2 separate regions of the Homo sapiens genome follow, and region 1 is linked to region 2. The links are contacts of gene promoters, found by promoter capture Hi-C in human tissues and cell types (Jung and others, 2019). All regions are on one chromosome and are shown on one strand. Each heading gives the region's core, a stretch centred on a gene start or on the middle of the fragment in contact. The rest is flanking DNA. Distances are from core to core; before and after follow the strand shown. Region 1 overlaps EFCAB13 (EF-hand calcium binding domain 13). Region 2 holds the start of TBX21 (T-box transcription factor 21).

The links. The method cuts DNA at HindIII sites, captures the fragments that hold promoters and counts their contacts. A contact is called where the count stands out against the background at its distance.
Region 1: a contact is called between a fragment that was not itself captured here and the fragment with the promoter of TBX21 in region 2, in 4 of the 25 tissues and cell types used here (adrenal gland, lymphoblastoid cells, spleen and 1 more).

The regions. Positions count from the first base shown.
Region 1 is chr17:47,438,294-47,444,793 of GRCh38, forward strand. EFCAB13 (EF-hand calcium binding domain 13) reads left to right here. Exons shown (of 25, transcript NM_152347.5): 25 at 2,138-3,019. The coding sequence ends at 2,421. Among named protein-coding and RNA genes, the nearest start is that of NPEPPS, 90 kb to the right of the region's middle. The HindIII fragment of the contact is 4,140 bases long and covers 2,218-6,357 here.
Region 2 is chr17:47,728,112-47,734,485 of GRCh38, forward strand. TBX21 (T-box transcription factor 21) reads left to right here and starts at 5,125. Exons shown (of 6, transcript NM_013351.2): 1 at 5,125-5,834. The coding sequence starts at 5,344. RefSeq lists a promoter at 3,133-5,132, silencers at 4,944-5,483, 5,514-5,683 and an enhancer at 5,864-5,913. The HindIII fragment of the contact is 11,884 bases long and covers 1-6,374 here.

The DNA of each region.
Region 1 (6,500 bases), core at 3,038-5,537, 290 kb before region 2:
GTTCTTTGTGCTTCTTGTTTTTGGATATCTAGGTCTCTAGCATCTTGGATATCAAGGCCAGGGAAGTTTTCCTCGATTATTCCCCCAAATATGTTTTCCAGGCTTTTAGAATTCTCTTCTTCCTCAGGTACACCAACTATTCTTAGATTTGGTTGTTTAACATAATCACAGACTTCTTGGAGGCTTTCTTCATATAGTCTTATTCTTTTTTTTTTTTTTGTCTTTGTTGGATTGAGTTAATTAGAAGAACTTATCTTCGAGCTCTGAATTTCCTTCTTCTACTTGTTCAGCTCTATTACTGAGACTTTCCGGAGCATTTTGCATTTCTAAAAGCGTGTCCAAAATTTCCTGAATTTTTGATGGTTTTTTCTTTATTCCCTTGACTATTTCCCCCTTCACTTCTTGTATCATATTTTGGATTTCCTTGCATTGGGCTTTGTCTTTCTCTGGTCCCTCCCTGATTAGCTTAATAACTAACTTCGTGAACTCTTTTTCAGGTAAATCAGGGATTTCTTCTTGGTTTGGATCCATTACTGGTGAACTAGTGCGATTTTCCTACCAAGCTTTATGTAATACTATTCACTTTCAGAATCTGTCCTGTACCCAGGTTCTAATATTAATTTCTGCTTCCCTCATATACCATCTCAAGACTGCTATCTTTGGCCTCCTGTATTTCCAAGCTTCTTTCTTTTATCTCCCCAGAGGTTAAGGCTTTCATCCATCAGCTCTCTGACTTGTTCTTAGTATTTCCCTACACAGCAAGGGGACTCTCTTCTTATGGGTAAACTCTCATTGATATTATCCATGTTCTGTATTATAAAGATATTTCCTTATTCTTTCTTCTATGAAATTGCCACCTGAGTTTCCTCTTTGTTTTGTTTTTTTTTTTTTTTTTTTTTTTTAGACAGATTCTTGCTCTGTCGCTCAGGCTGGAGTGCAGTGGCACATTCTCGGCTCACTGCAACCTCCGCCTTGAAGGTGCAAGCGATTCTTCTGCCTCAGCCTCCCGAGTAGCTGGGATTACAGGCTCCTGCCACCACCCCTGGCTAATTTTTGTATTTTCAGTAGAGACGGGGTTTCACCATGTTGGCCTGGCTGGTTTGGAACTCCTGACCTTAAGTGATCTGCCCATCTCAGCCTCCCAAAGTGCTGAGATTACAGGCATGAGCCACCATGTCTGGCCTGAGTTTCCTCTTTGGTGTAGGCTCTGAAGCTGACTGCGCTGGTCCTAAATTTTTATTTCCTGACTTATATGCAAATACAAATGTTTAATATTCTGCCTCTTAGTTACACTGTAGGCATGGACTATAGGTTATTTTACTTGCCTTACTTGTTAATTTGTATGGATTTTTGGAGACCACGTGGAGAGATTAAATTTATGTGTCTACTGTCATACTAAAGCAGTGTTTCTAACCTTTTTTTCTCTTGCTCCCCTAAGAAGCCTTTATAGACATTTTAGTTCCTAATTATCCCCCACCCCCATGAAAATTTAATACCACAGATATACCATATATCTGTTTAAGTACTATGGCCAGAAACTATTGTAATATCTGAGATTTTTTTTTTCTCCTAAGAACCAGTTTTACCCCTTGAGAGCAGTATCACTCTCAATGAGAATGTATGTTCTGAAAGTATCTTGAATTTTTTTTTCATTGTTGTACTGCCGAATCCTATAAGTAGTATTTTACTTATACTTTAACACATGTATGAGTAATATTGGTCTATAATTTCCCTCCCTCACCTCCTCAGTATTATATTTATTCTGTAGTTTTGTAGGCAATTAGGAGCTACTGAAGGGTTTTATGCATGGGAATAATCAATTTTTTTAAAGAGGAATACATCCCTTGACATACTGTGGAAAATAAATAGAAGATGAGACTGGTGGCATAGGTTTTTAAAGATGCCATTGTAATAATAAAGGTATTAGTTAATGCAGTAGTAAATTCAAGAAGTATTTGGAAATAAAATGAGCAGAAATTGATAATCATATGCATGCAAGAGGTAAGGGAGAAGAAATAGCCCAGCCTTACTCTCAAGCTTTTAACTTCTGTTATAATTTGACTATTAGCTTCAGCTATATTATTTAATTCTGAAACAATAATTCTTTCTTTTAAGTAAATTATGCTTTGCCTTACAGAAAGTGGCAAGGTTAGCATTCAAGAATTTATGACTAAATTATCCGATATATTGACAATTCCTAAAGCTGCAGGTAAGTTTTATTTAATATGTACTTATTGCCCAGATCTAGAAAGGCAAGCAGTGGTTTACATGTTAAAAACAATACAGGATTCGATAGTTAAAGCACAGGTAAGTAAGAAGCAATACAATATGAATATAAAACAACACAAGATTAGTTTACATAACTTCTGTTTGAATTCTAAGGCAAATATTGCTAAGCTTAACCCAAACTCAAAATTTTAGGTAGTCTTACTTGATAGTGCTAGAAAATTACTAGATTATATATTATTCAGTATGCATATTTGACTTCTGAAATTATTAGAAAATAATTTTTAAAACTTTTGACAAATCCAGTAGAATTTTTATCACTATCTGTTATGTTCTCATGTATCTTCAGCGACTCTCTTGATCACACTTTTTAAACATTCATGCTTTTTGAGGTATAATGTACATATGGCAAAATTCACTCTTTTTAGGTATACAGTTCTTTGGATTCTTAAAAATAATGTAATGTAACCCTTACTATACACAACATATAGACTATATTATCCCCCAGAAGTCTCTTATGCCCTTTTGGTAATCCATTTCTTCCTCTACCCTGAGCCCCTGGCAACTACTGATTCATTCTTTGTCCCTCTAGTTTTGCCTTTTGTGGAATATCATGTAAATGATTAAATATGAAGTGGTTTGAGTTTGGCAGTCATTGCATGCATATACCTTGAATTTACTTTGTTTATACTCTCATTTATACTACCAACCCTCCCTAGAAAAAATGGATTCTGATTGGTTCTGGTTGCAGTATTACAAATTCCAAATAAAGCTTTATTTGAGGACCCCCAAAGTTGAGGTACTGATCCCTTTGGCTGTTTGTTTCCCACTAAGTTGTGTGTGTGTGTGTGTGTGTGTGTGTGTGTGTGTGTGTGTGTGTATGTGTAACCAACATTTTGTTGAATCAACAATGTACCATTAGTAAAGCTGCTGTGCAAAATTATCCCTCAGATCTGTTCTAAACTTACAGTTTAACTGATTTTATTGTCCTCACCTAAGGTTATACAATTCATTTTTTGGAAGAAAATACTAGGACATTAAATCAAGATGGTTACTTTTGCTATTTTGCTGAAGATTCATATTTAAATATAAATGAAGAAGTTAATCTACACATTAGAAGTGTTTTAAAAAATGTTTAAATTGATACATAATTGTACTTTCATTTATACATTGTATAATAATCAAATCAGTGTAAGTAGCAACCCATTGTGAACCCCAAATATCAGAAACAGGATTCAATTAATTTAGAAAGCTTATTTTTGCCAAGGTTAAGGGTGTGCCCATGACACAGACTTAGGAGGTCCTGACACATGTGCCTAAGGTGGTTGGGGCACAGCTTGGTTTTATACATTTTAGGGAGACATGAAATATCAATCAATACATGTAAGATGTACATTGGCCAGAAGGGCAGGGGAAAGACAATTTGAAGCGGGGAATTTCCTTATGGGCAAATTGTGAGGGAGTTAATGTAGCTTCTTCTTTTATTTTATTTTATTTTATTTTATTTTATTTTTTATCTCTGTTGCTATCTCCTTTAGGAATAGAATGGGAGGTAGGTTTGCCTGACACAGTTCCCAGCTTGACTTTTCCCTTTGGCTTAGTGATTTTGGGATACCGAGATTTATTTTCCTTTCACACCATCAGCTCAAACATTTATCATTTCTTTGTAGTGAGAACATTCAATACATTATTAACTATAGTCACCCTTTAATTTTTAAATAGACAAATACAAATTGTATGTACTGTATATTGCATGATTCAAAATATGTACATACATTGTGGAATGGCTAAATTGAATTAATTAACGTGTTTTACCTCACATACCTATTTTTGTGATGAGAACACAAAATCTTTTCTCTTAGCAATTTTCAAAAATATTATACATTGTTATTAACTGTAGTCACCATGTTATACAACAGAGCTCTTAACCTTATTGATTTTCTAATATTTTATTAAAGATTTTTGAGAGTATGTTTATGAGGGATATTGGTCTATAGTTTTCTTTTAGTGTCTTTTCCAGATTTTTTTGTTAGGGTTATGCTGACCTCATAAAATGAGTTGGGAAGTCTTCCCTCCCTTTTTTATTTCTGGTTGAGTTTGTGCATTAGTTGGTTCTAATGCTGCTAATAAAGAAATATCTGAGACTGGGTAAGTTATAAAAGAAAGAGGTTTAACTGACTCACAGTTCCATATGGCTGGGGAGACCTCACAATCATGGTGGAAGGCGAATGAGGAGCAAATTCACCTCTTACATGGCGGCAGGCAAGAGGGCTTGTGCAGGGGAACTCCCATTTATAAAAACCATTAAATCTCGTGAGACTTATTCACTTATGGGGACACTGCCCCCATGATTCGATTATGTCCACTGGCCCCACCCTTGACACTTGAGGATTATTACAATTCAAGGTGAGATTTGGGTGGGGACACAGCCAAACCATATCAGTTTATGATTATGATTAGGATTATTGTTTTCATTAAATGTTTGGTAGAATTCACCATCTATTCCTGAAGATTTAAAATATTGAGCTCTATTTATTCAATGGATATATAGCTCTTTAGAGCCTCCCTCTTCTAAATCTTTCTGTAGTTGTCACTATATCTTTCTGTAAGTATCATAAAGAAGAAATATACTTTCTATAAGTGGAACTGTGTCTTGTCAAAGTTTATTTTATGTAATTTGTCAGGTTTATTGTCATGAAATTGTTCATAATATCCCCTTATTATCCTTTTAATGTCTATAGTGTGATGTCTTATTTTTCATTCCTGATGTTTGTAATTTCTATTTTCTCTTTTTTGTTTGTAACCAGTCTTGCTAGGGAGTTATTAAATTTATTAATAATTTTACACAAATGGTGATTTTGTTAATTTTTGTTAACTTTTCTCTTTTGTTTTTCTTTTTCATTGGTTTATATTTTTATTGTTACTATCATTTGGTCTTTGTTTACTTTGGGCTTCATTTACCCTTCTTTGCTAGCTTGTTAAGATAGAAGCTTAGATAACTGATTTTTATCCTTTTCTAACATTAAAACTGCAAATTTTCCCCTAATATGTCTTTCATTGCATCTCACAAACGTTGTTATGTTGTGCTTTTTATCATTTACTAAAATATTTTCTAATTTACCTAATGATTTTTTCTTTGAAGTGTAGGTTATTTAGAAATGTAGTCTTTAATTTCCAAATATTGGGACATTTTCTAGATATCTTAATTATTATTGATTTCTAATTTATTTATTTCTTTTAGGGAGAGGGTCTTGCTTGTTGCTCAGGCTGGAGTGCAGGTGGCATGATCATGGTTCACTGCAGCCTCCAACTCTTGGGCTCAAGCAACCTCTTGCCTCAGCCTTGCAAGTAACTGGGACTACAGGCACACACCATTACACCTGGCTAATTTTAAACATTTTTTCTGTAGAGATGGGGTCTCATTTTGTGTTCCAGGCTGGTCTTGAGCTCCTGGGCTCAAGCATTTCTCCTGCCTTGGCCTCCCCAAGTGTTGGGATTATAGTTGTGAGCCACTGTGCCAAGCCTGATTTCTAATTTAATACATTTGGCCAGAGAATATATTTTGCATGATTTAAATTCTTAAATTAATTAAGATTTATTTATAGCCCTGGTTATGGTCTATCTAAGTGAATGTTCCATGTGTACCTGAAAGAATGGCTTGAACTCGCGGGGAGGAGGTTGCAGTGAGCCAAGATTGCACCACTGCACTCCAGCCTGGGCAACAGAGTGAGACTCCATCTCAAAACAAAAGAAAAAAATTTTTTGGTTAAGAGTTTAGATAAAGGAAAAAACTCCATTTAAATGTTTCTGTGAAGAAAACCATAATGGATTACATGGCACAACAACAGTTTCAAAAAATTAAAACCAATTTGTAAACATTAATCATCACGGTTACTTATATGCCCTTAAAAATGATCTATATGCTCCTAGTGTCACATAAGACACGTTAATCTAGGAGTCTACTTCACTCAGACTTTTTGCAACTAACATGCATTCTTTGTTTCTTCATCACTGTGGGGAAGAGGTGGTACATACAAAAGGTTCTTGACATAACCCTATAAAAAGATGATCACATGGTGTATTATCTGGGAATTTAAATGGTCACAATTCCAGGATACGTCAATGCTATCAACTTTAAAAAATAAATAAATTTGACCTATAATGGGGGGGCCAGCCGGGGGTAGGGGAGAAAGAGGCAAACTGTGTATCCTGGAACTTTGTAACTGGAAAAAAATTAGCAGCAGCAGCAGCCTGATCAAAACTGCAACTTCTTG
Region 2 (6,374 bases), core at 3,875-6,374:
TAGGAGCTCTTTGGGGGCAGGGACTGACCCTAATTTATCTTTGTGATCCCAGATCTCCAAGGGCCTGGCTTATCCCAGCGCTCAGGTACCCAGGGAATGGTATATGGGTATCAGGAGGGGAAGCCTGTCCCTTTCTAATATGTGAGTCTTATGAACAGAGGGGCTCTCTTTTGGCCCCAGGCCCTGAGTGGAGGCTGAGGATGGACCTGAAGGACACTTTGTGGATGAGCCACTAAGCCAGAGGGAGGAAAGGGCAGGTGTAAGTGGCTGGGAGTAGAGGAAAGAGGGCTTAGCACAGTTTATGCCTCTGTTTTGTTTCAGCCTTAGGACAGCATCCCTCAACCTTCACATGACAGACCCAGTCAGTCCTGGCAGAGGTCTGATAGCTCCATTTACTGACAAAAAAAACCCAGAGAGGTTAAGATACTTTAATAGGTAGCACAGCCAGTAAGGGTTGGGATTGAGGTTCCAACCCAGCCACCCAACTAAGTCTCCCCACCCCATTTCTCTCTGCCCCAGCTCCAGCACCCCCAGGCCTCTCTGCCTCTGCAGACTTTCCTCCCATTGGCCCATCTCTGTCTGTCTCCTTTCTTTCATGCCCCTCTCGCAGGCCCAGCCTGAGACTTTCCCACTGAGTCACGATCTGGGTCCCTGACTTTGTGGTCCCTGTCCCTCTCTGGGTCTAAATCTTTCTTTCAGAAATGCACCCTAAGCCTCTCACTTTGCTCTCTCTTTCTTTTCACGCCTTCTCCCCAACTCGCTGCCCCCTCTCTTTTACTATCTACCCTCTCACAGCCTCTAAGGCTCTGCCCAGCAGGGTGGAGGGTGGAAATCCTGGGTCCTGGTGCCATGCCATGCTCCACTAACAGTTTCCAGTAGGCTGGGCGTGGTGGCTGATGCCTGTAATCCCAACACTTTGGGAGGCTGAGGCGGGCAGATCACGAGGTCAGGAGATCGAGACCAGCCTGGCCAACATGGTGAAACCCCATCTCTACTAAAAATACAAAAAATTAGCCGGTCGTGGTGGCATGTGCCTCTAGTCCCACCCACCACGGGAGGCTGAGGCAGGAGAATTGCTTGAACCCGGGAGGTGGAGGTTGCAGTGAGCTGAGATCGCACCACTGCACTCCAGCCTGGGTGACAGAGCAAGTGACTCTGTCTCAAAAAACAAAACAAAACAAAACAAAACAAAAAAACAGTTTCCAGTAATAGCCGCTCCTCCCCAGCTGCCCCACCAAACCCATCCAAGAGCCTTCCAGGTGCCTAGGGAGCTCAGCACTCCATACGTTTTCAGGAGAGGACCCAGGTGGCTGGTAGACTCTGGGGTGAGGAATCATCTGGTCCTAGAGCATCAATAAGGAAATCTCAATGCCTGCAGCCACCCTCCTCAGGCATGAAACCTCCTCCACCGCCCTCAGTGTGCATACCCAGCAAGCTCAAGGCACACTGACTCGCAGGATGGGACTTGGAGATGGGACAGCAAAATGGGAGGGAGCCTGAGAGTGGGGTGCATGGACTCCCTGAAGTCCAACGCATCACCTGGAGTCCTTAAACATACAGATTCTAGAGACCCGCCACAGGCCTGGGCCTCAGAATCTCTAGAAGCAAGTCCCAGAAATCCACATCGTTGTGGCTTCCTGGCATAGTCTGCAGCCCACAGGTGAAGCAAGTGCTGTGTGACCTTCGGGGAGCCTCTCTCATTTTGAGTCTTCATGGGAAACAGTTTGAAAGGAAGCCCTGAACGTTTGCAGAGGACAACAGCGTGGAGAGAACCAGTGTCTAGGCTGTGGGATTAGGCATGATTTTCTTTTCTGTTTTCTAAACCTTTTCTTTTCTTTTTCTTTTTGTTTCTTTGAGACCGAGTCTCCCTCTGTCACTCAGGCTGGAGTGCAGTGGCACAGTCTCAGCTCACTGCAACCTCCTCCTCCTGGGGTCAAGTGATTCTCTTGCCTCAGCCTCCTGAGTAGCTGGGATTACAGGGGCCAGCCACCACACCTGCTAATTTTTATTTTTGTTTTTGTTTTTGTTTTGAGATGGAGTCTTGCTCTGTCTCCCGGGCTGGAGTGCAGCGGCACGATCTCGGCTCACTGCAACCTCTGCCTCCTGGGTTCAAGTGATTCTCCTGCCTCAGCCTCCTGAGTAGCTGGGATTACAGGCGCCCATCATGCCCAGCTAATTTTTGTGTTTTTAGTAGAGATGGGGTTTTGTCATGTTGGCCAGGGTAGTCTAGAACTTCTGGCCTCAAGTGATTTGCTGGCCTTGGCATCCCAAAGTGTTGGGATTACAGGCATGAGCCACCACGCCCGGCCTGTTTTCTAAACCTTTTCCAGTGTTAGTATGATTCTTCCTCATTCTTGTGGGAAGAGCACTGGCCTGGGAGTCAAGAGACCTGGGTTCTAGCTTCAGCTCTGCCACAAATGCACTGTGTGAGTTTGGTGTCTTATTCCATTTTGCATAGTTACCATCCACCGTGTCTCATAAAATGTGATGCTGGTTGGAGGCCATGTCTCTCTCATTCCTGGACACTTATCTTGTGTTTCTTCACTCCGGTCTCACCAGGACCAGCCTCATAATGCTCCCTGTATTGATGGGATAGAGAGGGCTGGGAGGAGCAGCCATGGGGAAGTGAGGGGATCCCAGGGGGCCTCATCTCCTCACTCCTCTTCTCCCACCTTTCCAGCCCCAGGGCCCGGGAGGAGGGTGAGGTGGCAGCTGGAGGAGAAGGTGTCACTGCCAGGGCCCTTATTCTCACCCAAGCTGGCAGAGGGGCGGGACTGGCAGCAGTGACACCAGGGCCACTCAGCCCCCGCTTTTCACAAGCACTTTCTTTTTTGGGTGGAAGAAATTGGAGAGAGGGGGTGAGAAATCGGGGATTGAGGAACCAGGCTGTAAGACCCTATAACAGCCTGTCAGGTTCTAGAGAGACCACCCCCAGCCTTCCTCTTCCTCCAGAGGCATGGCCCCAGGGCCACCTGATTCTGAGATTCATAATTCCACCTGCCCCAGAAAGCTGGGTGGGAGCTCATGTCATCCTGTTCAGAGGCAAGGGGATGAATCACTTGACCTGAGGATTAATGTGGAAAAGAGGAGGGGGAGAGAGAGGGAGGAGCAAGACTCCATTTGATCTTCAACAGCCAAGCACTGAGCAAAAATGTCCCCCAAAGGGGTGTCAGCATTCAACAGTCTCACATCTCCTAGGGAATCAGTCATTCAGGAGGGTCTTACTGAAAGCTCTCATGTTTCCCCAAAAGTAGTGAAGGATCCCAAGGTCACCCTCTCTTCCAAGCAATGCTGCCCCACTTTGAACATCAGGCAGAAACTTCCCTGTTCCTTAAGGTACGGAGAAATGGTGGGTAAGGTGTTGGGGAGGAGGCCAGTCCTGTGTTTCTGGTACTGTCATGTATCCGGTCTCCAACCTCAAAAGATGTGCTGATTCTCTCTCCCCCAAGCCTCCCTGGGTCATGCCCACCTCCTGGAGTCCCCAGCTTTGCCTTTGCCTGCCAACTTGCCTCTTGGTTCAGCTCTATTTGGGAGCAGAGAGTCCCCATAGGCCCCTAAGGGTGAAGCCCTGTCAGGCTGGGACAGAAATGTAGAGCTGGGGCCAGTTCCCAGGGGAGAACTGGGGAGGACTGGGGTGAAGGTAGAGAGAGGAGAAGTTAAACTTTAACATGACAAAAATATTAAAGTATTTTTCAAAGTACTCTTAAAAATGTAAATCTTTATCTATATACTGATATGCAAAATATTCCATGACACCTTGTGGAGTGAAAAAAAAGTACACATTATAAAGCAGCATGTGTAGTGTTTATATAAATTATATATTTGTGCATGTGTGCAAAAGACAGAGACAGAGAGTATATAAGGAGTGAGGTCTCAGAGGGTGTTCACTGAAATGTTAATCCTGTTTGGCTTTAGGGGGTGGAATTTGGGGTGATTTATACAGTCTTGTTTTTACTTTTCTGTGCTGCTTAAATTTCCTATATAAGTATGTTTCATCTTTATACACAGGAAAACTCCCAATGATGCTATTTTCAATTGGGGGGGGGGAAACGGATAGTTTTCATCATAAAAGGAGTCTAATACATTAGTTAACATAAAAGGAAAATGGAGAAAGAAAAGCCTCCATCGTCCTATCTCCGAGGCAGCCCTTCAGAGCATGTGGTGGGTTTCCTTCCTGTCAGCCGGCTCTGAATCTGTTCAAAGCAGCTTTTCCATCCAGGTATAATAATAGATTGGAAAGTGCTGCACACGTACACCCTCTCATGTAAGGCTTGCAGCCCCCCTGAAAAGTAGATCTGTTTATTTCCCCCAGTCTATGGATGAGGCACGTGAGGTTGACTTTCAGGCAAGGAAAATGACTTGCCTGGGTCACATATACCTGGCAGGCAGAGCCAGACCTGGGACTCTCAGCACTGGCAGCCCAATGCTACTTCCAGTGCCCATGACTGCCATGCAGGGTAGGGGAGCTTTTGTGGGCCCTGCCAGGCCCAGCTCAGGGCCCTGCAAACCCCTGGCTGCTGCTGATGCAGTGCGCTTTAAGGAACATTTCCTGTTGTCCATCAGGTTCCAGGTCTGCCCCCAGGGCTAGAGCTACAAGATGCAGCCAACTCAGCACATGTGGACCTCTGGTGGGGAGAAAGAGGGCAACCCGAAAGGTCACTTAGCACAGAGTCTGGGCACACAGTAGGTATCAATAAAGATCGATTGAATGTTCATGGTCAAAGTTGCTTCTAGTGTGCCCGTGCTCCGAGCCTCTGAGTGCCAGGAGAATGCCCAGCGAGTCCCACTTGGGCCATCTCGGAAGGCTTCCTGTAGGAGAGGGCCTTTGAGCTGAGACTTCAAAGCTGGGCTGAATTTCCCCGAGGGTCCAGAAGAGAGCCACGGGCTGGTGTGTCAGGCAGCGGAGCTGACACTCCCAGAAAGCAAGATCTTCGAACTACAGGGTGCGCGCAGGCTCTCGCTTCTCTCCACCATGGGGGGCCCTGCAGTACTCGCCAAGAGCGTAGAATTTGCCTAGTATTAGCCACGAGAGGGCGGGGTGGGGCGAGGCGGAGCAGGGCCGAGGTGGCGGAGTGGGGGGGAGCCGGAGAGCTTCATAAAGCCACAGCAAAGCGCTGCGACTCTAGTGACAGCGGCCCGCTGGAGAGGAAGCCCGAGAGCTGCCGCGCGCCTGCCGGACGAGGGCGTAGAAGCCAGGCGTCAGAGCCCGGGCTCCGGTGGGGTCCCCCACCCGGCCCTCGGGTCCCCCGCCCCCTGCTCCCTGCCCATCCCAGCCCACGCGACCCTCTCGCGCGCGGAGGGGCGGGTCCTCGACGGCTACGGGAAGGTGCCAGCCCGCCCCGGATGGGCATCGTGGAGCCGGGTTGCGGAGACATGCTGACGGGCACCGAGCCGATGCCGGGGAGCGACGAGGGCCGGGCGCCTGGCGCCGACCCGCAGCACCGCTACTTCTACCCGGAGCCGGGCGCGCAGGACGCGGACGAGCGTCGCGGGGGCGGCAGCCTGGGGTCTCCCTACCCGGGGGGCGCCTTGGTGCCCGCCCCGCCGAGCCGCTTCCTTGGAGCCTACGCCTACCCGCCGCGACCCCAGGCGGCCGGCTTCCCCGGCGCGGGCGAGTCCTTCCCGCCGCCCGCGGACGCCGAGGGCTACCAGCCGGGCGAGGGCTACGCCGCCCCGGACCCGCGCGCCGGGCTCTACCCGGGGCCGCGTGAGGACTACGCGCTACCCGCGGGACTGGAGGTGTCGGGGAAACTGAGGGTCGCGCTCAACAACCACCTGTTGTGGTCCAAGTTTAATCAGCACCAGACAGAGATGATCATCACCAAGCAGGGACGGTGAGTGCGGCGCGCCGGCCCTTGGGGCCTCTGTGCCCGCGCCGGAACAAGAACGTCTCGTCTGTTTTTCTGGCTCGACAATGCTTCTGACTCCGTGTCCCTCACTGCTTTGGCTTCAGCGTAGGGAGACAGGGGAATGGGGTTGTTAGGAGGACAGGGAAAGCTCCGGAGGGGCGTCTGTGCCCAGGCTGTTGCACCAACAGCCAGAGGACTCACAAGGGAGACGGGTGAGTGCGGGACAGTGAGAAGTCACCTTGATTTAGGGGAAGGGTGACTGTGGCTTCACCTAGAATTGGTGTGCGCCCCTGCCCCACTCTCTACTGTAGAGGAGTCGCAGCGGGCAGTGAAAGCCTGTGCTCTGGGCGGACAGGACGCCTGGGCCTCCTGTGTGGGAAACTGGAGGGGAAGGGAGCCCCTTATCTCCGGGCCCCCTGCGCCCACCTCCCCCGGCTCCTTTGCTGCTGGTGTGCTCAGGTCAGCTTTAGTGGTGGTAGTGGTGGTGGTAGCGGTGGTGGTGGTGTGTGTGTACGGGGGGAGATT